Regions from separate parts of the Homo sapiens genome. Here region 1 is linked to region 2. The links are contacts of gene promoters, found by promoter capture Hi-C in blood cells and fetal thymus (Javierre and others, 2016). All regions are on one chromosome and are shown on one strand. Each heading gives the region's core, a stretch centred on a gene start or on the middle of the fragment in contact. The rest is flanking DNA. Distances are from core to core; before and after follow the strand shown. Region 1 overlaps TUBA4B (tubulin alpha 4b). Region 2 holds the start of IHH (Indian hedgehog signaling molecule).

Region 1 (5,370 bases), core at 1,816-4,315, 210 kb before region 2:
ATGGAGCACAGCTGATGGACAGGAAAGAACCAACTTGTGCTGTTTTAAATTCCCAAAAGTTTCATGAACTCCTTGGAAGACTTTTCCAAGAGCACAAAAGAGATCCTCATAGAGTGGGTCCAGGGCCCACCCTTTCTCCTCCCTGTCCCTCTTCCTCTGAAATCTCCTGAGGCCCTTAACACAGAGCTCTGTTGTATGCTGGAAAAGAGGGGTATGATGGTGGGTGGAGTTGGCTGTCTAGGCTGACCAGTGCACAGGACTCCAGGGCTCCCTCATCTTGTCGTCATAACTTGCCAACTCCACCCACCATCACACCCATGCCCCGCTGATTTAACTTTGGATGTTTCTAGAGGGTTTCTCTACTAAGAACAACAATCCAGGAACCTCATCCCCATCCTTCGTAGAAGCCAAAGCCAATCACAGAGGCTTTGGGCTGACATTCTTTGAATCCCTGCCTTTCACAGGGACTTCTGCCCACATCCTTGTAACACAAGGTGGTATTCTGGGAACGCTTATGGAACCCCACAGCTTGGCCAGGCAGCCCATCAACATGTTTGCCTTAATGGACACCCTGCCTAGCATCAGGCCAGCCACTTCGGAGATACAGGGGACACCAGCTCCAGGCTGGAACCTACAGTTGGCCCCCCGATCAGAGTGCAGGGCCTCTCCTCATTGGTCCTGATCCTGTGTGTTTCTCCCAGAGGCTGAAGCTGTCCTTCCCCAATCTGGTGTCCAGACTACCTCACAACAGGAATCCAGATTCATTCCCCCTGCCCCAGCCCTCAGTCCTTTCCTCACCAGCTTCCGAATCCGGTCCAGTAGCAGGTCGATGAACTCCTTCCCAATGGTGTAGTGGCCCCAGGCATAGTTATTGGCAGCATCTTCCTTGCCTGTGATGAGCTGCTCTGGATGGAAGATCTGGCGGTATGTGCCTGTTCAAAGTTCATCTGCAGTGGGCAGAGTTTTGGGCCCCACCTCCCTTTGCAATCCAGCTGCTGGAGCCCCAGGGGACCTGAAGGGAGTGGGGTCACCGGGTCCCAGGTTCTGCATTCAGGCTGCTGCTATTACCTGCTTGGATGTGTTTGTGCTGCTTGGATGTGTTTTTCAATAAGGAAAGGGATGTGGAGTGGCCTACAGACTCAGGAGCTGAGTAACAGTGATTCTGTACATGTGGAGTTCTAATTGGCTGCAGCACCTGGGAAGCTATACCACAGACACCATGCTCTGCAGTTATGGAGTAGGACTTGCTGTGGTACCCAGGGACAAGGTTGTGGCTGGGACTGATCATCACAGCGGGCTCCAGATCCACAAACACCGCCTGGGGCACATGTTTCCCAGCCCCAGTTTCACTAAAAAAGGTGTTGAAGGAGTCATCCCCCTCCCCTGATGGTCTTGTCACTGGGCATCTGCCCATCAGACTGAATCCTATGTTCCAGGCAGTAGAGCTCCCAGCAGGCATTGCCAACTGCACACCGGCCTGCCCCACGTGGACTGAGATGCACTCACACTGAGTGGGCAAAGGGCAGAGAACGGCCTTCACAGAGGGAAACATATCATGCCTGGACATGGTTCCTGCCTGCCTTCCTTGAGTGGCTCTTTGGCTGAGGGCCAAGGTTCCTGGACTCTACTCTGCTTGCCTCGCCTCCTGCATCTAAGCATTTACTGGTGGCACTGAGGAGCAACAGGCATCGGCTGTAGGGGCTGGGCCAAAATCATTGGGGGAAGCAGAAGATGCGGGCAGTCCTGAGATTATAGACTCTTGCTCAGTGCCTGTCTCAATGAGCAACATTGAAGGAATCGAATGAATCTAGAAGTGCAAGATAATCTACCCACCAGTGTCCAGAAAGAAATTAGGAGCCATTGGTGAGGGAAGCAAGGGAAAATAGTACAAAGATAAAGCACAGGAGACATTAACTCCAAATTTGGAATAATGGTGCTCTCTGGCAGGGGAAGCAGATAGATGCAATTGGAGACAGATTCTATTTCTCAAGCTTGATAGCTGCTGTTCATCACATTATTCTTTTCTTTTTTTCTTGAGACAGAATCTCACTTTGTCACCCAGGCTAGAGTACAGTGATGTGATCATAGTTAACTACAGCAGTCTTGGACTCCTGGGCTCAAGGGATCCTCCTGTCTCAGCCTCCCGAGTAGCTGGGACTACAGGCATGCACCACCATGCCTGGCTAAGTTTTAAATTTTTTTGTAGAGACAGGTCTCGCCATCTTTCCCAAGTGGGTCTTAAACTCCTGGGGTCAAGCAGTCTACCTGCCTTGGCTTCCCAAAGTACTGGGATTACAGGCATGAGCCACCGCCGCCCAGCCTATCATGTTATTATTTATACCTTTTTGCATTCCTGAAATATTTCTTAATTGTTTAATGAGGATGACTTCTCCAAAAATGTAACACTTCATTGACTATTTTTATATAACACAAAGGCCTGACTTTTCATGATTTTTAGATGACTGAGATTAATCCATAAATAATCTGTATTCCAGCCCAATTACTTCTCTACTTGTCTTGAGCAAAAATCTTAACCTCTTTGTCAATGTTCTCCTTTTGAAATGTAGACAATAATAAGAGCCCCTCCTAGAAAAACTATGAGAATTAAATGAAAGAATGCATGCAAAGTGCCTGGCCCACTGCCTAACACACACTAGGGTGTGCCATGCATGTTGGGTTCCCCTTCCAATTTCCCACCCTCAATCCCTGATGTCATAGTAAGAGAAGGTAATGAATTGAGGCTGGGCGCAGTGGCTCAAGCCTGTAATCCCAGCACTTTGGGAGGCCAAGGCAGGTGGATCACTTGAGGTCAGGAGCTCGAGACCATCCTGACCAACATGGTGAAACCCCCTCTCCACTAAAAATACAAAAATGGTGTATGCTTATAATCCCAGCTACTCGGGAGGCTGAGGCAGGAGAATTGCTTGAACCCAGAAGGTGGAGGTTGCAGTGAGCCGAGATTGCATCACTGCACTCCAGCCAGGGCAACAGAGTGAGACTCCATCTCAAAAAAAAAAAAAAAAAAAAAGATAATGAGTTGAGCTGAGACCTCAAGGACAGGAGAAATCCCAGGTCCAATCCTGGGGCTGCCTTGGCTCACCAATCACCTGCCTGGTGCTGCACCTCTGAGCCTGACCAGCCAGTTCTGTCCACAGACCCAGACATCGTCCTGGCCCCCAGAACTACTAGCCCATGCAAGGTGTCTCTGGCCCCTCTGGGAATGATGTCTCACACTGGAGGCAGCAGTTTTGGGGCAAAGAACTCAGCCCCTGGCCGGGTGCAGTGGCTCACGCCTGTAATCCCAACACTTTAGGAGGCCGAGGTGGGCAGATCACAAGGTCAGGCGATTGAGACCATCCTGGCCAACATAGTGAAACCTTGTCTCTACTCAAAATACAAAAATTAGCCAGATGTGGTGGCAAGCGCCTGTAGTCCCAGCTACTTGGGTGGCTGAGGCAGGAGAATCGCTTGAACCCGGGAGGCAGAGGTTGCAGTGAGCCGAGATTGCGCCACTGCACTCCAGAATGAGACTCCGTCTCAAAAAAAAAAAAACAAAAAAAAGAACTCAGCCTCTGGAGTCACACAGACCTGGCCTCAAACCCCCATCTCTCTGTGATCCAATACAAGTCATTTCACCTCAGCTTCCCTAGCACCTTTTTCATGACTGTAGAAAGAGAAGAATCTCATAGCCGGCGGCCTGTGTTGTTACATTGCTTAGTTCTGCTTATTAAGCACTAATAAGGTGCCAGGTGAAGGTGGCACTTTATACACATTATCTCATTTAATCTTTACCACATTCACCTTAGGTAGGTAGTTTTATTACCCCCAATTTATAGATGAGGAAACCGACCCTCAGAGAAGTCAAGTAGCTTGCTCAAGGCCATGAGCAAAACCAAGAATATTTAGAGCAGGGATGGCCTGGCACCAACCATGCTCTTAACTGTTCTTCTATCCTGCCTGGTAGGGAGGTGGGTAAAAGATATCAAATAAGCCCCAGGCACAGCCAGCTCTTGACAGATGGGAGCACCCCCTTTTCCCTCCTCCTTCTTCTCCCCACTGATCTGTAACTGACATGAGAGGTCAGACAAAGGCACAGCAGATGGGCAGGGTGGAGGGAGGAACCAGAGGGGAGAAGCTTCCATGGAGGATGTGTCCCCATGGTGGGAAGGTGGGATCAGAGCCCAACAGTGAACCTGTGGCAAGGCCCAGGGTCTGGAGATCCTCAGCCAGCAGAGGAAATCGCCTACACTTTCTGCTCAAGTCCTGCTTCCCCCACACTCCCCACACCTAAATTCAGACCCCCTCAGCAGCCCTGCTTCTCAGCCTAGGCTCAGCCCCACAACCTGGTTACCATTAAACTTTCCTTCCCTACCCCCTGTGATGCCCCCCACACCTGCACATTTGGGGGCCACAGCCACATCTGGAAGTCTCTTTCCCTCTCCCCACCTCGCCACATACTGTAGCCCCATCACCATGTGGACTCCCAAGGTACCTTCACGCCAGATATCTTGGGCCCACTGGGACCCTCACTTGCATGCTCAGTCCCCCCAAGGCCCCTTCTACTCACCATGCTGCCTGGACAGGGGCTGGCTGGGGTCTTGTCTCTCTGTCTGCTGCAGGATAGTGAGCAGGGATAGATCTGTGAGAGGCCTGCAGCGGCCAGCCAGCCTCCTCCTTATACTCGCTGGGTGGCTCTCAGCAGGTGGATGTTGTTAGAAACGGCCTGGGAGGGCAGGGCCTGTTGACTTGGTCACAGAGTACGAGGCAAGCTCTGGGCCTGCACCCAAACAGGGGAGCCAGCTGAGGTGGGCAGAGGAGGGGCCAGGGCTAGTAACTCCACACAGGTATCCAGGCCTCTGGGTACATGGTATCTGTTGTCAGTCACGCAATCCCATTTCCTGGTGGCACAGCCTGCACTTCACAGGTGGAAGATGATTTAGAAATCAAGACCCTGAGCTCCAGCACCGCCCCCACCCATCAAACCCCTGCACTCCCCTGCCCTAGGGTTGCTGAGGGCTGTAAGTCGACTGTGGGTGGGACTAAGAAGATCTCTGCAATGATCCAGAAATAATGAGTCCTCGGCCAAGAGATCAAGCCTCAGGACATCCTGCCTGGAAACTCAGAATATCATAGAACAAGCGACCTAGAGCTTGGTTTTAATCCCACCTCTAATAGCTACTAGCAATTAAAACTTCTTTTTTTTTCTCTCTCTGGAGAATGGGGAGAGGTAGTATTACGAGGTACTAACAAGGTAACCTTTCTTAAGTGCTTAGTCCAAAACAGCTGTTGCTCTCCAAGGGCAAAGCAAGAGGATGAGCAGGGCCTCAAGGCACTTCCTAAATGTCTCTTCCTAGGCCATGGCAAGTCACT
Region 2 (5,187 bases), core at 2,375-4,874:
ATTTTCATGTTATAGATGAGAAAATGGAAGTTCAGAGTCATGTCTAAGGTCACACAGGTAGAAGGTAGCAAAGATGGTGTTCAGGCATGGGTTTGCCACCTCCAGGTCTACTGTTTCTACTGAGCCAGGGTTGCTGTGCACTGGGTCACTGGAGGGTGTTGGACTAACTGCATTCCTGAAACTTGTCTGGTTGTGGCTTACCACCCTTGGATTTAGAGCTGGATTGATCTGGTCAAGTGGCAGGATTAGGAGAAAAAATACTAGTTGACTATAGAAGTATGGACCTATGCAGTATGTATGTGGATGTGAAGATATGCTATAGAATATCATGTATATACTATAAGTACAATGTATTTCTACTATATAGTGTTAAATTAAGATTGACTAAAAATACTAACATGGTAGTCTACTAAGTAGATATTTAAATTATGTTCTATTATGTATTTCCCTCCATTTCTAACCTATTTTTTTAACTTTCACTTTTCTAAACAAAAAATTAATCATATTATCCAAAGCAATAGATAATTTGTTCTCTTCAAAATAGAGCTGATTGAAGGATAGAAGAGATCTAAAGGTGAAAGAAGAAAGTGATTTTACCAGCAGGCCCAGGAGGGTCGAGCCCAGTGAGGCTCGATCACTGCATCTCTCTCCTGATAATGAGGTCACATGTCCCAGGCTGTATGCCACTGGAGCTTCCATAGTGGCATACTCTGCCCCCGTCCAATTTTAATACTGCTGACAGAGGCTGGCAATGATCAGAAAAAGAACCAGGCCTTGTTTGATAGGTCTAAGGAGCTACTAGCCCAGTTTAAAAGCCACCCAACACCTACTGAACAGCTAAGAACATAGGCAGCCAAGAAATGACCCGGATACTGAGGCCCCAGGTTGGATTTAAAGTGCTCCAGGTCACTGCTGTAGAAATTATGGTGCTCCCAGTCTCCATCCTTCCTCCACTGAAGGAGGTTGGACTGATGTTGACCCAAATTTGAGATTCAGATCTTGGAGCACCATTATGTCCTGAGAAAAGAGTATAGCTTTGGAGTGCAAAAGCTCTGGGTTCAAATTTTAGCTCTGGGACCCCAGGCAAGTTACTTGGCATCTAGATCTTGGAGTTATAAATTTGTAAAATGAGAATAATGTCATGCACAGAGGATTATTGTGGAGATTTTACTAATTGTGTAAAGCACCTGGCAGAGAGAAAAGACTTGATACACGCTGGTCTCCCTCTGCTTCTCCAGCACACACCCTAATCACTGTTCCTAAATTAGCCTGGCAGAGGAGGGTCTGGTCTTGGTGAAGCCCAGTCTCAACCAACGAGGTGGCTCTGCTGCAGAGGCACACCTGATGGCAAGCTATGGGAGTACTTATAGCATAAAAACTTATTTGACATGGATCAGATCTTTACCAGATTTGTATTTAATAGGTTAGAATTACAGTCTGAGAGAGGAGAAATGAGAGGAAGAATGGAAAAGCTAATAAATGGTTATAAATTAGAACCTCTGAGAGAACTTAAAGAAATTGTCTTTTACTTGGAGAAAAGAAGATTGAAAGCAATTTAACAACTCTTCAAGACAATGCATGAAGGATAATCAGCAGGATAATGGCCCTAATCCCTAAGGCCAGAAAAAGAGGAACGAGTTGAATTTGCATTAGAGAGGGAGGGAGATAGATTAAATTTAAGGCGAAATTTCTCTAGAAGAATATTATTAAACAGTGGGATAGGTGACCGCAGAAGCCTATGGAATTTTCTTTCATGGAACTCCATAAAAACAGAGAGCCCCTGTTTGGTTTGTGAGAGGTACTGACCCTGTTCCAGAAATCTGAGGTAGAGGGGCAGGAGGGAAAGGGGATGGAGAATATCGCAGAGATAGTTCTTGAGCCCTGGAAAATACAAGTTAAAGCACTTGGAAGGCTTTCAGGGAAAAGAAGCAACATTCATCTTTGACTAGGAAACAGAATCTGAATGCTAATGCAAGAGAGAACATGCGGGGTGGGGAGAAGGTGCGGGCAAAGGGGAGGAAAGGAGGCGATCCATTTTGTTTCCACATTGCAGGCACCACTCCACTCCTAGTGGAGCAATCCTAAATTTCTTTCTGTGGGCCTCAGTTTCCTTTTCTGTAATATCAAGCGCTTAGATTAAGCACTCTCTTGAGTCTCATCCAATCCTGAATTTGTGTTTATAAAACCGATCCAGAGAGTGTGAGTAAATCTGTGAACAGCTACTTCAGCCCCGAACCCAGTGGTGTTGAGTGGACTGGTCCTGCACAGAGGGACAATGCACCTGCATGGGCAAAAACTGGGGCTGGGCCAGAGTCATGGGCTTCAATCCCTGCTTTTCAGCCACTAGCAAGTTGTTCATCTTCTCTGAACTTCAATATCTTCATTCGTAAAATGTGGACAGTAATAGCTCCTTTGGCCGTTTCGAGTTTAAATTAGATAATGCAAGTAGAAGACATAGTACAATAATATCTAATAACTACCATGTTCAGGAATATAAGTACCAATAAAATGGTACCTATTGTATTAATAGCATTTGAGTGAGAATTTTTAAGTCTTTTTATTTCTCATCTTTTCATTTCTACCTTTATTGGATTTGTAGAATCTATTACAGTCAAATCATATAGTTTGGTGTTGTGGTGGTGATGTTTTTTGTTTGCTTTTTAACACACTTGCCTTTACTTGTTTTGGCAGAAGGGATCCTAATTCATTCAGCTTTCTCGAATGTCATATAAAAACACATAACACATGTTCACGTTCCTAGTTGTTTCTACATATTCTCTGCTCTTTTAGATGTGTAATATAGAACCAAGTAATTATTTAGCAGTTCCGGTGGCTTTGCATCATTTTGGCATTCATACCAAGCCCCCGTTACTGAGATCTTTGCTGCCCCTCTTTAACATGGTCAGTCGGGGTTCCTCGGTATTCTGTTGACGTCACCATTTTAGCTACCCTTCTCTGCATATTGACCTATCCCTTTGCAACTTCATATTGTCACTTTCAACAGTGTTTCCAACTTAAAACCCCCTATTTGACTCTTCAAAAGGCTAGACTCCCCATCCCCAGTTTGACACCGACAGGCAGGCTGTGGGATGTGCACCAGGTTGATACAGAACCCAGCTCCACCAAGCTGAAAGGGCGCGTCGCCCGGGCCAGGGTGGGGCACCAGGTTATGAGTGGCCTCCTGCCTTTTGGGTTTGCTTCCCCGCAGGGGACACCGTAGGCGGCTGTGCGGTCCGGCCACTGCCCCCCGCCCCTCGCGTCCGGCCGCGCCGTGGGTTGCGGTCTCCGTGGGGGTGGCAGCTCCTGTCCGGGAGGTTTGCGCCTGGCGGGGCACCCCAGAGCCGCGAAGAGCCGGTAGGCGAGGCCAGGGCGGGGTGGGGCGCGTCCAGGCGGGGAGGGCAAACTCGGGCAGCGCAGGGGGCGCAGAGGGCAGCGGGCGGGCGGACGCGCGGCGGAGGCGCGAGCGGGACGAGGGCTGGCTAGTGCCGGGGCCGCCCGCCCGAGGGGGAGGAGGCTGTGCTGCCCTTGCTGCAGGTTCGCTGTCGAGCGCACAGGAGGCAGGGACATGGGTAGGGTGCGGTCTGCGCGGGGCCCGAGCCCGGATCTCTTCCATTTCCCCTCTCACTCGGCCCCGGGCTGCGCCGCAGACGGCAGCAGCTCCCGCTCCGCCCGAGCCGCCTGACCGCCGGGCCGGGGTGCTAACCGCGGGGCCCTGCAGCCCGCCGGCCCGGCCAGCCCAGCCCAGCCCGGCGGCCCGCAGCCCCGCCGCCCGCCGCCCCCCGCCGCCGCCGCGTTGCCAAAACAAACGGGCCGGCCTATTTATTGGCGGCCGGCGAGCCCGGCAGCTCAGAGTCGAGGCGCCGAGGGGGACAGCGCGCCGCCACCAGCTCGGGCCCTGGGCCCCCGCCCCGCACTTGAGTCCCGCCGGCCCTGGCCGCACCACGCCGCCCATGGCGCCCCCGCCTGGAGCCCCCCGGAGCCACCCGGACGCCTGAGCCCCCGCAGCGCTCCCGTCGACGCGCCTGCCCATCAGCCCACCAGGAGACCTCGCCCGCCGCTCCCCCGGGCTCCCCGGCCATGTCTCCCGCCCGGCTCCGGCCCCGACTGCACTTCTGCCTGGTCCTGTTGCTGCTGCTGGTGGTGCCGGCGGCATGGGGCTGCGGGCCGGGTCGGGTGGTGGGCAGCCGCCGGCGACCGCCACGCAAACTCGTGCCGCTCGCCTACAAGCAGTTCAGCCCCAATGTGCCCGAGAAGACCCTGGGCGCCAGCGGACGCTATGAAGGCAAGATCGCTCGCAGCTCCGAGCGCTTCAAGGAGCTCACCCCCAATTACAATCCAGACATCATCTTCAAGGACGAGGAGAACACAGGCGCCGACCGCCTCATGACCCAGGTGAGCGCGATCCGCCCTACCAGCGCGCCGCCACCGAAGCACGGCCACCTGCCCGGCCCTACCCACCCCCTGGCACATTTTCTCGACTGGCTGGCACGCTCCCTGGCACCTGCCCCTCTCGCCAAGCCCCGCTGCCTCCTGCCCAAGATGGGCTGGCCAGGGGTCCAGGCAGGAGTGTCGGCATCCCCAAGCCCGGAGGAGACTGCTAGAAGAGCTCCCCGCTGCCAAGCCCCACAGCCCAGCAGGTTGGCGGCGGCTCCTCTGCCCCAAAGTACTGGCAGCTCAGCCAGACGCTGCACCCGGAGGTACCTCTACCCGGCTGCCTCCTGCGCCTCCAGGACCCACGCAGTCCCTCCCGGCCTAACCTTCTGCACAGCTGTGCCCCTTTCATTTTGAAACTTTTCGGCACCCCTGAGGCAAAGAATCTCTGGGTGCGTAGGGTCACCACGGCCTTTCCTCCCTGTGCGCTCTTGGTTCTACGGGCTGCCCCTTCCAGGAGCAGCGTCCCGGCTGGGTCTGGGGTTAAGAACAGCGAGGAAGAGTTGAATCGGGAGGCGGAGGTGGGAAAAGGAACCTGCCCAGCGAGCCCACGTGTCTGTCCGGAGAGCTGAGGGGTGCTACTGCGGTGGAAGGGTGGGTTATTGGGGCCTTCGGGCTCTGGGACTGAGCTTAGGGGATTCCTGGGCTTGGTGGTGGGGACGGGAAGGAGTGGAAAAGAGGGGCTGAGATGCCGAGGGAGGCAGGGACCAGGGCTGACGCTAGTCTCTGCATGCTGGAGTAGGACCCGCGCTCCAC

The links. The method cuts DNA at HindIII sites, captures the fragments that hold promoters and counts their contacts. A CHiCAGO score of 5 or more calls a contact.
Region 1: a contact is called between a fragment that was not itself captured here and the fragment with the promoter of IHH in region 2, in 1 of 17 cell types (M2 macrophages). The highest score is 5.7, in M2 macrophages.

Annotation. Positions count from the first base shown.
Region 1 is chr2:219,265,764-219,271,133 of GRCh38, reverse strand. It overlaps TUBA4B (tubulin alpha 4b), which reads right to left. Exons shown (of 4, transcript NM_001355221.1): 2 at 4,568-4,613; 3 at 799-932. Among named protein-coding and RNA genes, the nearest start is that of DNAJB2, 11 kb to the left of the region's middle. The HindIII fragment of the contact is 2,144 bases long and covers 1,994-4,137 here.
Region 2 is chr2:219,059,358-219,064,544 of GRCh38, reverse strand. It overlaps IHH (Indian hedgehog signaling molecule), which reads left to right and starts at 3,624. Exons shown (of 3, transcript NM_002181.4): 1 at 3,624-4,392. The coding sequence starts at 4,078. It overlaps LOC124906120 (a long non-coding RNA gene), which reads right to left and starts at 2,852. Exons shown (of 3, transcript XR_007088092.1): 1 at 1-2,852. The HindIII fragment of the contact is 5,239 bases long and covers 1-5,187 here.